2 separate regions of the Homo sapiens genome follow, and region 2 is linked to region 1. Evidence: promoter capture Hi-C in 16 types of primary human blood cells and fetal thymus (Javierre and others, 2016). All regions are on one chromosome and are shown on one strand. Each heading gives the region's core, a stretch centred on a gene start or on the middle of the fragment in contact. The rest is flanking DNA. Distances are from core to core; before and after follow the strand shown.

Region 1 (4,956 bases), core at 1-2,500:
GTGTTGCCAGCTGTGCCAATGACCTGCGTGTTGCTGGTCAAGGTCAGAGGCATCCTCAGGTTGCTGGTGAGGGTTTCTGTCTGGCGTAAGTAGAGCTGGGTACTTGGCAATGGCTGCCCGATGGACGTGTTGACCGAAGGCTGTTGTAGGACGCTCTTGTCGGAGCTGTTGCTGACAGTGATAACAGTGCTGTCCATCTCCACTTCATTGCTTCTCTCCGGAGAGGAAGCACCTGTTTCTAGCTGGTTTGTCTGCGGACCACCCTCAGCGGGGGCTTCTGCAGCCTGCTCGGGTTGGGTGGGTTCAGCCTGGCTGTCCCGCGCCGCCCCAGGCCCAAACTGCTGCTCCACCGAGTCAGGCTCGGTGCCTATGGAGGAGCTGACGCCCGAGTCGAAGCTTTCACCTTTGGGCTCACTCTCGGTGCCCTCGGCCTGGTCTGTGTCTTCCGTGCACTCCTCGGATTCGTTGCGTTCCAGGATCTGCACCCTTTGCTGCCCGTAGTAGTCGTAATCGTCCTCCATCTCCTGCTTGATGTGGATGTTGCCCACTAGGGTCTGGATGCGCACAGGCCGGGGCTGCTTGCGGCAGTGCGTGGTCTCGGGGGTGGTGGACAGGTAGCGCTCCATCTGCTGCGAGCGCTCATGGATGCGTGTGATCCAGCTGGGGTCTTCCATGTGGTGGTCGCGGGGCAGGCCGAGCGCAGTCTCGTGGTGGCTGACCACTGCGCCGCTGTAAAAAGAGCGCTCGCCGCTGCCATTCTGCATGGAGCACGCGTAGAGTGCCGAGTAGATCCTGTCCACGCTGTGCTGTGGGTGGCTCTGCAGGTAGCCCGACTCCGTGTCGCTGCTCTGGCCTGACGTGCCTGACTCGGGAGTGCCCCGCGGCGTGTCCTGGCCCGAGTCCTGGATCCCCGGGAACACATCGCCCACGTTCTGTGACACGATGCGCGTGCACTCGTCGATGACTGTTTTGATCTGCAGGATGCTGGCGGCCGTGAGGATCTGCAGAGCTTCCGACTGCGAGACCCGTAGCACGCCGCTGTACATGAAGTCAATGAGCTTTTGCACTGACTGCACTGACACCACCGACGGGATCTCGATGTCGCTGTAGCCAAGCAGCAGTTTGTCCTGGAAGAAGGGGCTGCCGGCTGCCAGCACGCAGCGGTGTGCGCGCAGCATGCTCCCGTGGATGCGCACCGTTACGTCACAGAAGTGGCCACGGTTGCGCTGCTCGTTGAGGGTCTCGAGCACGGAATTGCTGAAGTTGTGAAGGTTGATGCTGTGAATGCGCTCGGTCATCCCCTTGCAACTGATGTCACCTGCAGCATGTCAACGCAGACACAAAACAGGGCATGGGTCAGATCTAGCTGGTTGCATTCCTAACACCTAGGTTTCAGGTGAGTAATGCTCATGGCTCCTAGAAGCACTGCCCTTACATACGCAAGTGGGGAGATGGACAGGCTGCGGCATACAAGCTGTAGGTACGATGACCTGAGGGAAAAGGACCTTGAATTTTGCTCCAATTCCGGCCTTTAGTGCCGCAGCCATTTTGGGTATCCATATTAACTCCCCAGAGCTTCGGCTGAGGTAGAGTGGCCTAATAACCAGATGATTTGTTTGCCTGCTATTCCTACAGCTTCAGCAAAGAACTGAAAGGCAAATGGAAGACTTGTTCTTATGGAACACTAAACCTCCACTTTATTTTTATTTATGTATTTATTTACTTTGCCTTCACTTTAGACAGGCCTAAGCCCAGATTCTTTGGGAAAGTTTACATTTCCCCCAACTTATCAAAGTCCCTTATTTTATTCATACACAGTGACCATATTCATAGTTAACAAATAAACCCCCTTCCTATTAAGTCATATGGCATATTATCAAAACCCACACCATGTATGCAAAAATTATTGGAAAATTCAACCCAGACTAAGATATCTACCAAACAGTCATGATCATGCTTTCCGGATGATGGATGGGCTACAGAAAGCAATCTGCTAGCTAAAGGGGCACTCCATGGCTGCTTTCTGTATCTACTCATTCTTCTTGTCATCTCTGACAACCTGTTTGAGCACTTTCTAGGGTGGTTGCATGTGATATGGAAGGTTTTCTGAATTTTCTGAGGCTTAATGAAGGAGGAATGTTAAAAAGGTCAGAGATGGCAGTTCTGACCCAGGAGACTACAGTACATTGGTGATCATATTTATTATGCAAACAGGGCACTTTCAAGAGTGAAAGAGAGCATTGTTAATAATTAGGCCAGGATAGCAGGAGTAAGCCAGAAGTGGGATATATGATCTCCTTGGGTAATAGGGTGCTTTATGTACTTGCCACAGGGAAGTATTAAACAGCTCCCAGGAGGAAGGCAACAGCTATGTGGAGGCTGCGGATAGCCTGACCCAGCGCCACCCTATAACGTAGGCTGTTATGGCAAGGGATACTATTGATAAGATTTGGATTCAGAATGAGAAAGAAAACAGGTGGCTACAGCAGTAGATCTTAGGGCTTTTCTATTTTTCTAGCTCATCTCTCAGATGGCTCTAGAGAATCCCCCTCCAAATAATTCTTCAATCAGATTCCCCATTCTTGCCTTTACAACTGAACAATCAGCTTGGGAAAGTGAAATAAGTGGGCTTTCAAAACCAAATGGCCCAAGCACTGATTGTTGGCCTGGACCCAAATCTCTCTGTCTTGTGAGAAGCCACCTGAGAGGTAACAGCCTGCAGATAGGAAGAAGGCCTACCTCCTCAAACTCTTTCCGCTCTACCTTGCGATAGAAGACTTGTTCAGGAAACTCTGAGTTCAATGAGCGTTTCTACCTTGCTTCACTCAATCACCCTCACATGGTATGAGCTTAACTTAATAAATGTTCAATAATACAATTTGCACTAATTTGTATAAGAGCATTCTTTCTCGTTCTGACTCTATCAGGTCTGTTATGTGCCTAAAATATTGTATTAGGCTACAGATTCCATCGTTTTTACTTATATAAGACAAGTTCTCTTTGCCAGATTAAAGAATTAAGGTAAATCCCCTGTAACCATGTGAACACAAAATATGGCCCCAAAAGAAGGCACAAATAACCCAGGAAGGGCTGTTCAGGAGCTCAATCAGCAGCAGACCAAATTTCAAGTTCTTGCTGAGTTCGCCATACATACATACCATGATAGTAATCACAAGATAACATTTTTTAGGGGTTACAGTTCTAACTGCTTTCTGTATATGATTTCATTTAATCTTACAGCAACCATGGGAAGTAGATGATATTATTCCCATTTTACAGATGAGGAAACTGAGGCCAGAGAAACTAAGAAACTTGCTCAAGTACACACAGGCAATTGCTGGTAGACTGGCATTTAAACCCAGGCAGTCTGGCTCTAGAGTTCACCCTCTTAACTGCTTCATTATATTGCATAGTTTGCCCTTTACTGAGGTCTGGCCCTTAGGGATCCACGGCTCTGTTGTAAAGCTGTGTGAAAGGCTTTGTCCACTACTACCTCCAGCTACTTCTATACCTATCCGTGATTTAGTGTGGCTTTTATGTTTTTAGGCTGTGATGCTTTGACATAGCCTCAGTTGTGTAACTTAAAGGACTTATTTTTTTAGATGTCACAGTGCAAGAAGTAAGACAACTAACTGGCACTATGGTTTAGGATTTTCTATATACAATTTTACTATAACCAAGGTCTCTTTCATTTAAGTAAAACAATAAGCAGTAAAACTGGTTGTGTCTGTGATCATCTCTGTGTAGGATGGATTTATTACAACATTTTTTTCTACACAAGTGAAAACACTCTTTAAACATACATTTGCTCATAACATTAGTTACAACAATAACACTAGAGATGTCATATATGACAGTTTTCTTTCAGATAATTCTGGGAAGTAGCCCTATCACAATTATCACAATAATTAGTATCCATGTAGTGTTTGACTGTGTATACAACTTTTTTACATGTAACATCTCATTTATTCCTTACAACAATCCTATGTGTGTTCTGAACAGGTTTTTTTTTGTTTTGTTTTGTTTGTTTTTTTTTTTTTTGACAGAGTCTTGCTCTGTTGCCCAGGCTGGAGTGCAGTGGCACAATCTCAGCTCACTGCAACCTTCAACTCCTGGGTTTAAGCGATTCTTGTGCCTCAGCCTCTCGAGTAGCTGGGATTACAGGCATGCACCACCACACCTGGCTAATTTTTGTATTTTTAGTAGATGAGTTTTCACCATGTTGGCCAGGCTGGTCTCAAACTCCTGACCTCAGGTGATCTGCCCGCCTCGGCCTCCCAAAGTGCTGGGATTACAGGCATGAGCCACTGTGCCCAGCCCTTCAGGACAAGTCTTATTATTGCTATTTCATATAAGAGAAAGTCGAGGCTCTCAAAATGTCTAAATGACTTGCCCAAAGTTTTGCACAGTAGCACATGGCAGTGTTGGGATTAGAAACTATGCCTCTTAAAGCTTTTTCCACTGCATAACAGTGGATCACTGAGGAATGGAACTTGAAGTGCCCAAAGATCGAGAGTTATCTTAATTCTCAGCAGAGAAAAAAGAAAGACACTGAAAGTAATGATGAAGGTTGCTTTAGAGATAAGAAATGAACACAGATAATCACACACACACACACAATTCCATGAGAAAAATCCAAACTGTTTGACCAGATTGGATTGCAAATTTTGTTCATCTAAACAATCAAGTTATCTACTGAATAGTCTGAGTTAAGACTCTTGCGATAATATTGCCACCAACTTCATTAAAAACCACAGAGACAAACCTAAACCTGCACACGTACACAACCTGATCTGACATGCCTGGTTGAATTTTATACACACAATTCTTAAATATCTCCCTGAGTACACTGGCCCCACACTGCAGTGAACAGCCATGAAAAGCTGAATCGTTTTTGCTGATATGAGTACAGATGCGAAGGGGGACCCTGCCTCCCCATTCAAGCATGCCTCATTC
Region 2 (4,990 bases), core at 48-2,547, 190 kb before region 1:
AAGGAACGACAACCCAGTTGGCCCTATTTTCTTTGCTTTGCTGCCTAGTGTAGATGTTGGCACTCCTACTCCCTGTGTACCGTTGTTCCCACAGGGCAGATGGACATCAAGGGAGTGCCAGGCTATCCAAAACTGGTTGCCTAAAGAAAGGACAAGTTCACAGAATGTTAGAATGCTAATGCTGGAAGTGATCTTCCAAGTCAGTTAGTCCAGTGATTCTCAAAGTGTGGTCCACAGTGGGGTGTTTATTAAAGATGTAGATTTCTGAATCCTTCCTATACCTACTGAGTCAGAATCTTTGGCTCTTTGGTCTGTAAATCTTCTTTTTTATTTTTTTTAAATTTATTTTATTTTTTGAGATGGAGTTTTGCTCTTGTTGCCCAGGTTGGAGTGCAATGGTGCGATCTCGGCTCACCACAACCTCCACCTCCCCAGTTCAAGTGATTCTCCTGCCTCAGCCTCCCAAGTAGTTGGGAATACAGGCATGCGCCACCAAGCTGGGCTAAAATCTTCATTTTTAAATAAACACTCCTATACATACCAAGGTTTGAGAATCACTGTTGAAATTCAAACTCAGGAGGCAACTAATGCTCCTTGTGGTTAAGTGATAACTTCCTCATAGATGCTCAGCTGGTGGTAAAAGGACTTCGGTGACTACCCGATGTGTACATTGTGCCAAAACTGTCTCTCTGAAGTCCTTCACCCAGTAGAGAGCTCATCATGCACTCAAGAAATAAGCTAAGAACACATTTTTCATAAAATTTACCTCCAAAGTAAAAATCTATCTGGCTTCAGCTTGTAAAGCTTGGAAACATTCTGAAACAACATTTATGGGAATCTATGTAAAATAAGTCTGTGCCAATGTGACTGCCTTCAACACTCTCCCTCCCCACCCACATCCCAAAAACCAAAAGTGGGGAAAAGGGCTGGATTCTCTCCACTACTCAGAATTCATGAGGATGGTTTCAACCTCATGCATCTATCTATACATGTATTTCAAGCTCCATAACATCCTCTGAGTAATGCTTACAGTCAGGAATTTATATAATATCATTTATACTCTAGTATATTTCTATTTATTTTTGAAACCTTTACATACCCTAATTGAATCAGGAAGATGTGTCAGGGAGATTGACACTTTTAAAATGTCCACCAAAGGCCACTCATGGACCGCGAGGCTTTGTGCAGTTACCAGCTTCTTTCCTGGGGGGGTGGGCTGTCATTCTTGGGGACCCTAGTTCTCGGGGAGAAACCTGCCAGGCTTTGTGCCTCTGGCTGTAGCTGAGTATTCACAATACCGCTCCTGAACAGGCCCAATGGCCATTTAAGAGGAAGAAAGAGTGAAAAATGGTACAGTAGCCTCTGAAGTAGCTTCCCAATAAGAAAACAGATACTGACCAAATGACTGTGCATAAAGATAGTGCTATTCCTTCATCTGGATTTTCTCATCCAAGGATCTTCTTATATGACCAGGTCACTTTAGTGTTCATTTCTGTTTTATCCCAATAAAATAAGGTCCTAAAAGGCCGTCTTTCCTTCCCTGTCCCTGATAACTTCTTCCCATTGGATTTATTTCTTTTTTTGCATCTCATTTTATTCCTGTGCTTGGTCATCTCCAGACTGTTTTGAGAAACCCTGACCAATGATTTTTTGTTTAAAAGCAACAATGAAAATTAAAACTAGTGAAGAAGTCAAATCCAGTTATGGATTTACTGTCTCTCTTTTAGTTTGACCAATTGGCTCTATATAAATAAAGGCTGAATATGAATTTATAGGAATTCTGAGAATAAAAAGCTTTTAAAAGATTGAGACATAAGAATTCCGATCTAAAGAGTCATAATAACACAATGATTTAGGGGAACCAAGAGAATAAAAGAAGGTTTTCTTCATTACATAGGACAGTTGCATACTGTAAAAGCGTCTTGCAAAAGCTGATTTTGTATACTAAATTTTATTTCAATATTATATCTACTCTGCAGTTAATGTTTTAAATTGGGTAAAAAAACACTTTTTGGCATAATTGTGAGCACATGTTTGTTTGTGTTTTGGGCTAGAGTAGGTGAGAAAGGATAGTTAGGATAACAGCAAACTTCAGTGTTTGCTGGATATTCATTCATTCATGCACTTGTAGAGCAAATACTTGTGAAGCTCTTAGTACTTGGTTTGCAGCAGTGTATGTCATGTGTGTTGAGAGGTTTTACAAAATGTACTACAGGGCCTATCCTTAAAGAATTTACAAGATAACTGGAGAAGTAAGGCATTCATCAATAAAATACTAGAGATCATCATGATATCCTAATATTGTTAATAGGAATTAACATTTATTGAGAATTCACTGTACATGTGTTACCAACCCACATGACCCATTCCAGGAATTTCTATAACTTTGAAACTTCAGACTTTGAAAACTGAATTTGTTTTTATTGTATGTGTTCTTAAAGCTTTTTGAAGACAAGTTATACATTTACTTGATAGGGGATGGAGTTATTGTTACTTAACCAACACCAACAGGAGCAGGAAGATTTACTTGTTTGCTGCTGCACCCCCAGCTCCCAGAGCAGGGCCCAACCATGAAAATATATTCTGAAATAATAAATGACCTCTGACATAATCTGTCATAATAATAGCTAACATTTATTGAACGCTTACTAAGTGCCTGGTGTTCTGCAAAGCACTTTACATACGTGGCCTCTATTGCCGATTATAATTCTATGACAGAGGATTATTATCTTCATTGCAGAGGAAGAATCTAAAAGCTTAGAAAGAATAAGCACTTTGTCCAAGGTCACAGGGCTAGTACAGGGAGACAGAGCATTGGAATGTAGGTTGTTACACACCCTGCTATAGGGAAGTGTTAGGTGAGGAGGGATAGTTGTTGGAAAAGGGATGGAAGTGGGTAGATACTAGGGGAAAGAAGAAAACCAGGTGTTCCTCAGGGATTTTTGTGTGACAGACCATATCATCTCCTTTCTAGGGAAAGAGACACTCTCCTGATTGCCTCTATCCCAGGGTTCAAAGAATAGTGCAAGAGACAGTGGTAAGTGCTGCCTTTGGGGTTGGTGAAAGTACACAGACAGTTTTATTTAATACCCCTCCTGCTTAGCCCCCAAAGGACAAAGCCCTCAAGCTGTTCTCTGGCTTCCAGGCCCCCAATGGCCTGTCATCCCATTCTGGCTATCCTCTTTTCTTGTCTCCTGATTCTGCCATGAAAATTCTCATTCTCTCCTTGATTTCAGCTAAGAGTCAAGAAGAAAACAATCTGATTAGCTGATTAAAATAATTCCCACTAAGGTGCCATCACTTAGCCTTCCCTGGAGCTTACTCATTAAAATGAGTCTCTAATTGGTGGGACTTGTAATGAATTTTTTTTTTTCTATTGACATCCTCCATATCAAGCAACAAATAGTAAGGGATCAATAAAGTGCATCTAGGTGCCAAGAATATGCTGGTAATTCTCACACATTTTCTCATCACAACCTGAAGAGGTAAATGTGATTTTTAACTTATAGGTAAAGAAATGGAGACCTGGAAGGGTTGAGTAATTTGCCAAATGGAGACCTGGAAGGGTTGAGTAATTTGCCTAAGGACACATAGCTTGTAAAAGGAGCTAGGATTTTGACCCCTTTATATTACCATTACTCTTCCTGCCTCTCAAAGTATAGTGGCTTGCCTCTTCAGAGATGTGTACAATTTAACTCTATTCTAATATCATAGGAGGTAGAAGAGTTGGTGTGTGTCCATCCATTACCCCTATAGCCATGGTCTAATGAGTGCCCAAGATATGTCTGATACTTTGCTTGGGCGGGTGTATTGAAACAAACCTGTTTTTGTTCCCAGGATCTCAGAATACAATGTGTGCCTATTACCAGAAGTGATGTGTGAATGGGTATGGGTGAACTGAGGGCCCGGGAGATAAGTACTTAAAAAACAGCTATGAGGCAATGTGATAGGCACCAAAGGTGAGATAGGTACAAAGTGTTGGAAGATTATGAAAGGCAAAATGATTTTTGAAATTAAAACAGATAAAAGTGAAAAAAGGCCTGGTGTGGTGGCTCCCACCTGTAATCCCAGCACTTTGGGAGGCAGGTGGATAACTTGAGGTCAGGAGTTCGAGACCAGCCTGGCCAACGTGGTGAAACCCTGTCTCTACTAAAAATACAAAAATTAGCTGGGTGTGGTGGTGGGCGCCTGTTATCCTACCTACTTGGGAAGCTGAGGCACGAGAATTGCTTGAACCCGGGAGGCGGAGGTTACAGTGAGCCGAAATCTCACCACTGCACTCCAGCCTGGGTGATAGAGCGAGCCTCAGTCTCAAAAAAAAAAAAAAAAAAAAAAAAAAAAAAAAGTGAAAAAAATCAAATTGACTTGAGGCTTTTTAGAGACATGATTCTTTCTCCTGCATTCTAATGAATAACTCACTTTAGAATTATACAGCAACCAGGTGGTGTTACTCTTACTTGCTAATGAATGTAAGTAACTCCCTGTGGCAATACAGAAGTTGAGTAAGCAGGAAAGTGTCTTCAGGTACTGAAATTGTCTATTGATTTTCAATAGACACAGCCTAGGGCAGCATTCCCCAAATTTACTGATTATAAGGCAGCATTTCCCAAATCTCCAGACACTCTTGTTAAACAAAATGATTCTTAGGCCTCGCTCAGAGTAATAAGTCCCTCAAGTGATTCTTATTGTCTTGGTTTGGGAAACACTGGTCTGGGGTTAAGGGGAGCATAAAATGATCCTGAGAAATTGTTGTTCCTAAAGCAGGTTTTCTTAAGCATTCTTTATCCTGTGGATTTCGTTAGCTTCATGATCCCCTTCTCAGAAGAATGCTTTTCTTCTTTTTATTTTTCTGTTTTCTTTTTTGAGATGGAGTCTCGCGCTGTCGCCCGGCTGGAGTGCAGTGGCACAATCTCGGCTCACTGCAATCTCCACCTCCCGGGTTCAAGTGATTCTCCTGCCTCAGCCTCCCAAGTAGCTGGATTATAGGCTC

The links. Contacts are between HindIII fragments. The CHiCAGO score rates a contact against its expected background, and 5 or more counts as called.
Region 2: a contact is called between a fragment that was not itself captured here and the fragment with the promoter of ZBTB20-AS1 in region 1, in 1 of 17 cell types (total CD8 T cells). The highest score is 5.1, in total CD8 T cells.

The regions. Positions count from the first base shown.
Region 1 is chr3:114,350,561-114,355,516 of GRCh38, forward strand. It overlaps ZBTB20-AS1 (ZBTB20 antisense RNA 1), which reads left to right and starts at 1,251. Exons shown (of 9, transcript NR_038993.1): 1 at 1,251-1,396. It overlaps ZBTB20 (zinc finger and BTB domain containing 20), which reads right to left. Exons shown (of 12, transcript NM_001348800.3): 11 at 1-1,318. The HindIII fragment of the contact is 4,056 bases long and covers 395-4,450 here.
Region 2 is chr3:114,159,908-114,164,897 of GRCh38, forward strand. All of the region lies in intron 2 of DRD3 (dopamine receptor D3), which reads right to left. Among named protein-coding and RNA genes, the nearest start is that of DRD3, 17 kb to the right of the region's middle. The HindIII fragment of the contact is 990 bases long and covers 803-1,792 here.